Regions from separate parts of the Homo sapiens genome. Here region 2 is linked to region 1. The links are contacts of gene promoters, found by promoter capture Hi-C in blood cells and fetal thymus (Javierre and others, 2016). All regions are on one chromosome and are shown on one strand. The core of a region is centred on a gene start or on the middle of the fragment in contact, and the rest is flanking DNA. Distances in the headings are between cores, read along the strand shown.

Evidence for each region. Contacts are between HindIII fragments. The CHiCAGO score rates a contact against its expected background, and 5 or more counts as called.
Region 2: a contact is called between a fragment that was not itself captured here and the fragment with the promoter of C22orf31 in region 1, in 1 of 17 cell types (megakaryocytes). The highest score is 5.1, in megakaryocytes.

What each region holds. Positions count from the first base shown.
Region 1 is chr22:29,058,335-29,064,122 of GRCh38, reverse strand. C22orf31 (chromosome 22 open reading frame 31) reads left to right here and starts at 2,292. Exons shown (of 3, transcript NM_015370.2): 1 at 2,292-2,333; 2 at 3,280-3,708; 3 at 4,941-5,451. The coding sequence starts at 2,331. The coding sequence ends at 5,381. RefSeq lists an enhancer at 1,155-1,922. The HindIII fragment of the contact is 5,266 bases long and covers 1-3,512 here.
Region 2 is chr22:29,233,647-29,239,404 of GRCh38, reverse strand. EMID1 (EMI domain containing 1) reads right to left here. Exons shown (of 15, transcript NM_133455.4): 10 at 5,739-5,758; 11 at 5,206-5,268; 12 at 5,056-5,100. Among named protein-coding and RNA genes, the nearest start is that of EMID1, 31 kb to the right of the region's middle. RefSeq lists enhancers at 4,759-5,259, 5,260-5,758. The HindIII fragment of the contact is 1,718 bases long and covers 3,644-5,361 here.

The sequences.
Region 1 (5,788 bases), core at 1,043-3,542:
GCCAAGGCAGGTGGATCACCTGAGGTCAAGAGTTTGAGACTAGCCTGGCCAACATGGTGAAACCCCATCTCTACTAAAAATACAAAAATTAGCCCGGCATGATAGTGCGTGCCTATAATCCCAGCTACTTGGGAGGCTGAGGCAGGAGAATCCCTTGAACCTGGGAGGTGGGGGTTGCAGTGAGCCAAGATCGTGCCACTGCACTCCAGCCTGGGTGACAAGAGTGAAACTCCGTCTCAAAAACAAAAACAAAAACAAGGGCAGTATAGACTTTGGTTGGGTTCAGCCTTTGTTGGTTACTTGAGGCATGATACTTGAGCAACTTGTGCCTCAGTTTCTTTATCTGTAAAACAGGGAACAGTGCTCAAACTCATAGGATGGTTGGTAGCATTTCATGACATGATGCTAATAAAGTGGCTAGAACAGTGCCTGGCCTTCAGGAAGCATTCAATAAATATTAGTTTTATTGACATAGGAGAAATAGCTTAGAACAAAGTACCCTGGGTTAGTTCTAAGGAAGGCTGAGGGTTACCTGTTGTGGCATAGTCAATTGAAGTGAGTTACAATGAAGGCAGAGAAGGCAGAATTTGATAGAACTTGAAGAGTATGTATCAAGTGCTGCCCATGTGAACAGCTCTCTGCTGGAAGAAGGAGATTGAGGCTGAGCACAGGCTCACGCCTGTAATCCCAGCACTTTGGGAGGCCAAGGTGGGTGGATCACTTGAGGCCAGGAGTTTGAGACCAGCTGGGCCAACATGGTGAAAACTCATCTCTACTAAAAATACAAAAATTAGCTGGGCTTGGTGGTCCGCGCCTGTAATCCCAGCGTCTTGGGTGGCTGATGCACGAGAATTGCTTGAACCCCAGGAAGCGGAGGTTGCAGTGAGCCGAGATCGCACCACTGCACTCCAGCCTGGGGGACAGAGTGAGTAAAAGACCAAGCAGAGTCATTGAGTAAAAGACCTAGCAGAGTAAATCTAACGGATGAGTGTGTGGAAAGATGAGGTGCAGGAAAGCCAAACTCAAGATGGAGAAGGAGAAAAGAGAAACAGATGACCTACTCCTATTATGCCTTTTTTTGCTTGACATTTCCCTCCTGTCCCTGCTTTGCAGAGTAAAGACAGATGGTAATTTCCAGGTAGCCCAGGAGCCCGGTGCCATTTTTCCAAGACTGACCAGCTTTGAAAAGACTCTTGCCTGCCCAGTCTCCAGACATTCGCAAACTCTTCCCAAAGACAAACCCTTTCCAAAGCCCTGCTCTAAAATCGACCCAGCTCTTAGGAGGTGAGGCCAGGGCTCGCCACTGAAAGGGAGCAATTGTCCTCTCAACTGTCTGTGGGTCCAGCTGCCATAGGCCTGGAGGTGGTTCCACCACAGCCTGTGGTGCGGTCCGCCTGCAGGCTCTGATTCACTCCAGGGACAACACTTAAAAACGCAAGCAGGCAACACATGCGATTCCAGGAGCCCCTGCCAGATTCATACTCTGTTTTTCCATCATTTCACTGGCCTCCCCCTCAGGAGGGAGGCTCCTGAGGCATTTTACAAATAAAAGAATCAAACCCACCAACAGGACGAGCACCTGATAAGCAGTGAGGCATTGCCCAAGAGTTCCCAGGAAGAGGCGGCTTTGTTCTCCTTTCAAGCCCTTGACACTGCTAACAGCTCTAATTACTGCATTTGCCATGGGATGTAAAAGAAACCCACATTCCAGAAACCATGTAGTCTTCCCGGGAGAGACATGCAGGGAAAGGTGCCCAGGTCTGCAGGAACGTGTTCTTTCATTCCTGGTCCCTAACCTTGGCAGCTGTTCTGAGAACTTAACAGTGCCTCCTTTATGTACATGAAGGAGGGCACTTTTGCACATGTAGGGATGCATCTCACTACCCATATCCCCAAATCTGGTCTGCATATTTGACTACATTTCCTGCAAAACATACTTCTTAAGAACATGAAGATCTTCAAAATTCATCCAAGCCATTTTGGGGGAAATGAGGACTTCAGAAGTTTCTGAGGCTAGAAGCAAAACCGTATAGAACTTCTTCCCACATAATTTAACTATAAAATCTGATGATGTAACACCCACCCACACCCACATCACAAACCAAAGTGACATCACAAATACTAGAGATAATGGCTCAAAGCTGCCTGCATTGAGCCCACATCTAAACAAACAGCAATTTGCCCATATGTGACTAAGGCAGAGAAAGACAGGTGACTAGAAATATTAAAACAAAAACAAAAAAAAAGAGAGAGAGAGAAAAAGGAAAGAGAAAATACATATTTCTTCCCCTTACTAAGCTAGCGAAAATAAAATTTAAGGCAACTGAAATATGGTAAGGTGATTTTATTTCTATAGATGACATTTCTTAGAAAGCCAGATCTCTTTAAATATGTGATTCTAATCTATCCAAATTGTTCTGTTGCTCTTAGTTGGTCCCAGGAAATGGAGGCCGGCAGCATTAATGTTTTCGTGTTGCTTTTATGGTCCCCAGAGTATATTGATTTCCCTGTGAATGAGCTCTTCTTGGTGCATGGCAGTTGGTTAGAAAGTGTATTCAGCCGAACATGGTGGCTCATGCTGGTAATCCCAGCACTTTGGGAGGCTGAGGCGGGCGGATCATCTGAGGTGGGGAGTTCGAGGCCAGCCTGACCAACATGGAGAAACCCTGTCTCTACTAAAAATACAACATCAGCTGGGTGCGGTGGTGCATGCCTGTAATCTCAACTACTTCGGAGGCTGAGGCAGAAGAATCCCTTGAGCCCGGGAGGCGGAGGTTGCAGTGAGCCAAGATCACGCCATTGCACTCCAGCCTGGGCAACAAGAGCTAAACTCCGTCCCCCCCACACACAAAAAAAGAAAGTGTAAAGCGTATTCAGGGCTTGGCAGAACTTACCGGCTGTCATGTCTGTGTTGCAGCATGGTTGAGTGTCTACAGCTCATATGGAAGTCTTGAGTGACCCTGCCGTCCGTATCTTTCCAGCAGGCAGGAATTGTCTTCAATTCCTTGTGAACCCTCCCTGACCCCCGACTTCCTGCCCTGGCATGCTATGTTCTTTGAGAGCCTGAATATTACTGTAACCTTGTGGAGTGACTATCTCCTCCCTACTTGGTATAAAAGGCTTTGGTGAACAGGAGAGGACATATAGTAAATTTCTAAGAACTGGGTGGAAGGAATGGCCTATAAAAAGATGTTAATATTTTGCCTTCAAAGTAGACCTTTTATTCTCTGCTGAAGAACGGTCCTTTTAAAATTCATTTCTCCCTCCTTATAATTCTAGCACCCAATCAATGTGAGACGAGACCCCAGCATCCCTATCTATGGACTCCGACAGTCCATCTTATTAAATACCAGGCTTCAGGACTGCTATGTGGACTCACCGGCTCTCACCAACATCTGGATGGCCAGAACATGTGCAAAGCAGAACATTAATGCCCCAGCACCAGCTACCACTTCCTCTTGGGAAGTTGTAAGGAACCCATTAATTGCCAGTTCCTTCTCCCTGGTTAAGCTTGTACTCAGGCGGCAACTGAAGAATAAGTGCTGCCCACCACCATGCAAGTTTGGAGAAGGAAAACTCTCGAAGAGATTAAAGCACAAGGACGATTCAGTGATGAAAGCCACCCAGCAGGCCAGGAAAAGAAACTTCATCAGTTCCAAGAGCAAGCAGCCAGCAGGGCATAGGAGGCCTGCAGGAGGCATCAGAGAGGTAGACGAGGACCAGTGGTGGGGAAAATGTGACTGGCGAGGGGAGGGAAAAGGTAAAGCCAGAGAACACTTAACGGTTGAGATTATATGGCGTGCGGCTACCGCCTATAATCTCAGCACTTTGGGAGGCCAAGCAGGGAGGATCACTTGAGCTCAGAGAGTTCAAGACCAGCCTGGGCAACATAGGGAGACCTCATCTCTACTAAAAAAAAAAAAAAAAAGCCAGGCATGATGCACATGCCTGTGATCCCAGCTACTTGGGAGGCTAAGGAGGGAGGATTACTTGAACCCAGGAGGTTGAGGCTGCAGTGAGCCATGATTGCACTACTGCATTCCTGATTGGGCAACAGAGCAAGACCCTGTCTAAAAAATAAAAAAAAAAAAAAAAAAAAAAGAAAAGAAAAAAAGATCTATACCAAGTGAAGGAAATCCTAAAGTTGAAGACAGAATGTGGGGAGGAGGTGTAGCATGACAGAGTGGAAGAATGCCCCAGATTTTGGGGTCATGCTATTTATCATTTACACTATGCTTAGTTCTAGAGAAGGATGAGGTGGCTTTCATAAGCACAGACTTGACATGAAGGAAAAATAAGGGTGAGAAGGAAGGCTAGGATATGGGTAGTGCATGCTTGTGCACACACACACACACACACACAACCAGTGGTCAGCTATGGATCTGGATTGTGAGCGTCCACATGGAGAACTTGGCCTACGAAGGCCTGATTGGAATCCAGGTATGTTACCCCGTGGTGGCCAGCAGGCCATCAGGGTTCAAATCCCAACTCGGACTGTAATTGAGGACGACCTCGGGCTTAATTTCTTTGTGCCTTGATATTATCATATTAAATGGGGGATAACGGCCCTTCCCTCATAGGGCTTCATGAATGTTAAATAATACATGCAAAAGGCTTTTGAACAGAGCCTGGCAGAGGGTAAATAATTAGGATCTTGCGTGGCATTCAATAGATGACAGCTGTTATTAACCTTCTAGCTGTGTGGCCTTGGGCAAACCAATTCCAATTTCTTTGCCTATAAAGTTGTCTCCTGCTGACCTCACAGGGTTATGGGGAACACATGCAGTGGTATGTACATAAAGGAATTCAGTAAACTAGAACATGCTAGACAAATGTTGGTTGTTGCTGTAACCAAGACTCTGGGACACAAATCCCAGATAATTATTCTGAGCTCCCCTCTCAAGTTTTAGCTTTGACTTCTCTGCTTTCTTCCTGGCTAGAGTAAAGAAAGTTCAAAGGAGAAAAAACTAACAGTCCGCCAAGATCTTGAGGACAGATATGCTGAACATGTGGCTGCCACCCAAGCGCTACCCCAGGACAGTGGGACAGCAGCCTGGAAGGGCCGAGTGTTGCTTCCTGAAACCCAAAAGAGACAGCAGTTGTCGGAGGACACGCTAACCATCCATGGTCTCCCCACAGAGGGTTACCAGGCTCTGTACCACGCTGTGGTGGAGCCAATGCTGTGGAATCCTTCAGGGACCCCCAAGAGGTACAGCCTGGAGCTGGGCAAGGCCATTAAACAAAAGCTCTGGGAGGCTCTTTGCAGTCAGGGTGCCATCTCTGAAGGTGCTCAGAGGGACCGGTTCCCTGGCAGGAAGCAGCCAGGTGTCCACGAGGAGCCTGTACTCAAGAAATGGCCCAAGTTAAAGAGCAAAAAATAGGAACAAGAACTCATGGGATTAGAGTATTCTCTGCTAGAGATCTGAAAAATAAACACAACTTTGCACCTTCCGTGTTATCGCAGAGTGCTTTACAAATTAGCGACACCCTCTCAGGGGAAACAAAGAGGTACCAGATTCACTGAAGACCAAGGGTCCCTCTCCACTCATGATTAGGTAATTTTGAAGGGTAGATGCTTGGAATATTTTTCCTCCAAGGCCTTGAGAGTCTCTTAGTCTTCCAGGTAGGAAAAGACCTGACAGATAAAGCAGATGTTTTATATTCAGGCTATGGTTCCCTATTTCCTTCCTTCTTTCCCTTCCTTTTCTTTCTTTTGAGACAGCTCTGTCGCCCAGGCTGGAGTGCAGTGGCATGATCATAGCTCACTGCAGTCTCGACTTCCTGGGCT
Region 2 (5,758 bases), core at 3,253-5,752, 170 kb before region 1:
AATCCCAACACTTTGGGAGGCTGAGGTGGGTAGACTGCTTAAACTCAGGAGTTTGAGACCAGCCTGGGTAACATGGTAAAACCCTGCCTCTACATTAAAAAAAAATTTTTTTTAAAAGAAAAAAAAGATATTCTAAGAAATAATTAAAAATAAGTGGTAGATATAAAAAGCACTGTAACAGAAATAAAGAATGCCATTGATGGGCTTATTCGTGGACTGGACATGGCTGAGGAAAGAATCTCTAAGCCTGATGATATGACAATGGAAACTTTCAAAACTGAAATGCAAAGAGAAAAAAGGCTGAAAGAATAGAACAGAATATCCAAGAATTGTGGGACAATTACAAAAGATGTAAATATGCATAATAGAATACCAGAAGGAAAAAAGAGAAAGAAACACAAGCAATATTTGAAGTAATAATGACAGAATTTTCCCCCCAAAAATGTCAGACACCAAACCACAGATCTAGGAAGATAAGGGAATACCATATAGGATAAATGCCAAGAAATGACAAGTAGGCATATCATATCCAAATTTCAGAAAATCAGGCTGGGTGCAGTGGCTCACACCTGTAATCCCAGCACTTTGGGAGGCCAAGGCAAGAGGATCACTAGAGGTCAGAAAGACCAGCCTGGGCAACATAGTGAGATCTTGCTTCTAAAATTAAAAAAAAAAAAAAAAAAAATGGCCGGGCACGGTGGCTCACGCCTGTAATCCCACCACTTTGGGAGGCCGAGGCGGGCGGATCACCTGAGGTCAGAAGTTTGAGACCAGCCTGGCCAACATGGTGAAACCCTGTCTCTACTAAAAATACAAAAAATTAGCCGGGCGTGATGGCAGGTGCCTGTAATCCCAGCTATTTGGGAGGCTGAGGCAGGAGAATCGCTTGAACCCAGGAAGCGGAGGTTGCAGTGAGCCAAGATCACACCATTGCACTCCAGCCTTGGGGACAAGAGTGAGATTTCATCTCAAAACAGAAAAAAAAATTAGCCAGGTGTGGCACATGACAGTAGTCCCAGCTACTCGAGAGGTGGAGGCGGGAGGATCCCTTGAGCCCAGAAGCCTCAAGGCTTCTGAGGTGACAGAGTATGACCTTATCTCTAATAATAATAATAATAATAATAATAATAATAATAATAATAATAATAATTTTTAGAAAAACTTCAGAGAATCAAAGATAAAAAAATACTGAAAAGAAAACAGAGGGAAAAAATATCTTTCCTGCAGAGGAGCAACAATAATAATTACAACCAACTCTGCAGAAACCATGCAAGCAAGAGAGTGGAGAGTAATATACCAAGTATTGAGAGGAAAAAAACACATCAACCTAGAATTCTTTACCCTGAAAAATTATCCTTCATGCATGAAAGGGAAATGAAGACTTTCAGACAAACAAACAGTGAGGGAATTTTTGTCAGTAGATCTGCCTTGTAGGAAACATTAAAAGAAGTTCTTCAGCGGAGCACTTATTTTATTTTATGGAATGAAGTGTTGCCCGATTCTAGAATCACAAATAAAGCCAACTGGGAAAAAATAAAGGTAGTTCTTCAGAGAGGACAAAAATTATGTGTCAGAAACTCAGATTTTTTTTGTTTGTTTTTTTTGAAACGGAGTCTCGCTCTGTTGCCCAGGCTGCAGTGCAGTGGCGCGATCTCCACTCACTGCAAGCTCCATCCCCCAGGTTCATGCCATTCTCCTGCCTCAGCCTCCCAAGTAGCTGGGACTACAGGCACCTGCCAGCACGCCCAGCTACATTTTTTTTGTATTTTTAGTAGAGACGGGGTTTCACCGTGTTCACCAGGATGGTCTCCATCTCCTGACCTCATGATCTGCCCACCTCGGCCTCCCAAAGTGCTGGGATTATAGGCGTGAGCCACCGTGCCTGGCCAGAAACTCAGATTTTACATAAAGAAAGGAGGAGCATGGCCGGGCATGGTGGCTCACACCTGTAACCCCAGCACTCTGGGAGGCTGAGGTGGGTGGATCACCTGAGGTCAGGAGTTTGAGACCAGTCTGGCCAACATGGTGAAACCCTGTCTCTACTAAAAATATAAAAATTAGCCAGGCAGGGTGGCAGGTGCCTGTAGTCCCAGCTATTCAGGAGGCTGAGGCAGAGAATTGCTTGAACCCAAGAGGCAGAGGTTGCAGTAGCAGAGATCACACCACTGCACTACAGCCTGGGTGACAGAGCAAGACTCTCTCTCAAAAGAAAATAAGTAAGTAAATAAATAAATAAAGCCAAAAAAAGGCAGAAAAAGTCTGGCAGACAAAAATAGGAACAAAGAACAAGGAAAACAAATAGAAAATAGTAGCTGGGCGAGGTGGCTCACACCCGTAATTCCAGCACTTTGGGAGGCCAAGGCCGGTAGATCACAAAGTTAGAAGTTCAAGACCAGTCTGGCCAAGATGGTGAAACCCCATCTCTACTAAAAATACAAAAATTAGCCAGGTATGGTGGTGGGCGCCTGTAGTCCCAGCTACTTGGGAGGCTGAGGCAGGAGAATTGCTTGATCCCGGGAGGCGGAGCTTGTAGTGAGCCGAGATCCAGCCACTAGACTCCAGCCTGGGCGACAGAGCAAGACTCTGCCTCAAAAAATAAAAAAAAAAAGAAAAAAAAGAAAGAAAATAGTAATATGGTAGCTGTTAACCCAACTATATAAATAACACTTCATTTATTTAGTTATTTTTTATTTTACTGATTGACTTATTTTTTTGAGATGGAGTCTCACTCTGTCGCCCAGGCTGGAGTGCAGTGGCACAATCTTGGCCCACTGCAACCTCCGCCTCCCAGGTTCAAGCAATTCTCCTGCCTCAGCCTCCTGAGTAGCTGGGATTACAGGAGTGCGCCACCATACCTGGCTAATTTTTGTGTTTTTAGTAGAGACGGGGTTTCACCATGTTGGCCAGGCTGGTCTCAAACTCCTGACCTCAGGTGATCCCCCTGCCTCCACCTCCCAAAGTGCCAGGATTACAGGTGTGAGCCACCGTGCACAGACTATTTAGTTATGTTTTAGAGGCAAGGTCTGGTTCTGTCACTCAGGCTGGAATGCAGTAAAGCAATTATAACTGTCACCTTAAACTCCTGGGCTCAAGCAATCCTCCCAGCTCAGCCTCTCAGGTAGCTGAATCTACAGGTGCACACTACCACGTCCAGCCAATTTTTAAATTTGTTTTATAGAAAAAGGGTCTCATTTTGTTGCCCACTCTAGTCTCAAACTCCTGATTTCAAGTGATCCTCCTGCCTTGGCCTCCTGAAGTGCTGGAATTACAGGTGTGGGCCACTATGCTGGGCCTCAATAATCACTTTAAATGTCAATGGCCTAAATGCAGCAAATAAAAGATGAGGATTGTTAGAATGGACCAAAAAATAAGACCTAACCGTAGGTTTTCTATAAGAAACTGACTTTAAATATAACCACAAAACAGATTAAATGTAAAGGAATAGAAGTTAACTGGGCATGGTGGTACATGCCTGTGGTCCCAGCTACTCAGGAGGCTGAGGTGTGAGGATTGCCTGAGCCAGGGAGGTTGGGGCTACAGTGAGCTATGATTGCACCACTGCACTCCAACCTGGGTGACAGAGAAAGACCCTGTATCAAAAAAAAAAAAAAAAAAAAAAAAAAAGCTTAAATTCTAGAAAGCTTTAATTCTAGAAAGAAAATTAATTTTAGAAAGAGAAGATTTTAAGTCAGGCACAATGGTGCACACCTGTAGTCCCAGATACTTGGGAGGCTGAGGCAAGAAGATCACTTAAGACACTTCATTCACTATGTGCCCAGGAGTTTGAGTTCAGCCTAGGCACATAGGGAAACCCTGTCTCTAAAAAAGAAAAAAGAAATCATAAAAAGTACTCAATCCAAAAGAAGACAAGAAAAGAAAAGGGAAAAAAGAAACACAAAACAGAAGGAATAAATAGAACATAAACAGCAAGATGGCTAAACAGAACCATATTAATCAATTATACATATCATTAAATATAAATTAACTAAACAGTCAAACTGTTTTTAAACAGCAAGACCCAAGTCATATGATGCACTTTTTTTTTTTTTTTTTTTTGAGATGAAGTCTCACTCTTATTGCCCAGGCTGGAGCACAATGGTGTGATCTCAGCTCACTGCAACCTCTGCCTCCTGGGTTCAAGCAATTCTTCTGCCTCAGCCTCCCGAGTAGCTGGGATTACAGGTGCCTACCACCATGCCTGGCTAATTTTTGTATATTTAGTAGAGACGGGGTTTCACCATGTTGACCAGGCTGGTCTTGAACTTCTGACCTCAGGTGATCCACCCGTCTCAGCCCCCCAAAGTGCTAGGATTACAGGCGTAAGCCACCGTGCCCGGTCCACACTTTCTTACATTTAATAAAATTTATATACATATTTTTATATAAAGACAGAGTTTTGTCATGTTGCCCAAGCTGGTCTTGAACTCCTGAGCTCAAACGATCCACCTTCCTCGGCCTCCCACAGTGCTGGGATTACAGGTGTGAGCCACCACACCCAGCCATGATGCACTTTAAATATAAAGTTACAGGTTGAAAAAAAAAAGGATAAAAAAAGATATAACATGCAAATAGCAAGCATAAGAAAGCTGGTGTGCTATTAAAAGCACACAAAGTCGATTCAAGGCAAGTATTATCAGAGATAAAGATATTAATTTCATAAAGATAAAATGACCAAGGAGACATTAAAATACTAAATGTGAATGCACCTAATAACAAAGACTCAAAATACGTAAAGCAAAATTCACCAAATTAAAGAGAGAAATGAACAGATCTACAATCAGAATTGGAGAGATAGAGTGTAAATGAAATACAGAGTCAAAGAGACAGACGTACAGAGGGAAAGAGAGAGATACAGAGAAACAGAGAGCCAGAGTGAGAGAGACAGAGGCAGCCTAATCCAAAGAGGACAATGAGTCTCAGAGACAGGGAGCATCTGAAAATAAATGACAAGACAGGGAGGGTTAGAAGCTCTGGTTGCAGGGGATGGAGTCACAGGAGGAATCTGGGACTAAGGGATCCTGCAGGGATGAATGCGGGACAGACAGCAACACTTACCCGCTGCCCAGCAGAGCCTTGGGGGCCAGGCTCCCCACGCAGTCCCTGTGTAAGAGGGAGGAGACGAATGGCGTCAGCTGTTGAGGACTCTGACCTGGGGCCCTCAGGACTCCCCAGAATTCCCCCACCTGGGGCCACCTGGGTACTCACTCTCTCGCCCTTCTCTCCTGGGTGGCCAGAGATTCCTTTGGGTCCAGTGGGGCCTGGGGGTCCCTGAGCAACAAGACAGGGCCTCAGCCTTGTGTTGGGGCAGGATGGAGTGGGCAGGGGCTTGGGAACAGAGGTGTTGGGGAGGGCGCTCAAGCTTGGTCTGGGCCTCTGGGTTCTTCACCATACACCCAGCACACCGCAGTCAGTTCATACAGCTCAGTGTTAAAAGATCTGATCCTGGAGTCAGACAGTCCCACCACAGCTCATTGCCATGTGCTGGCACAAGAATCTCTACTTTTCTTGGTCTTAGGTGATAACCACACATGGTTCTCATTACTTGGATTGAATAAGATTTATGGAAGGTAGTTTGCATATTAAGTGCTCAATAAATACTTGTTGAATGAATGAATGGAAGGATGAATGGATGGATGGATAGATGGATACAAGGGTGGATGATGGACAGATGTATGGATGTATGCATAGATGGAAAGATGGACAGACACATGGGTGAGAGTACAAGGAGAACTACTCACTATGTGACCAGGACTCCCAG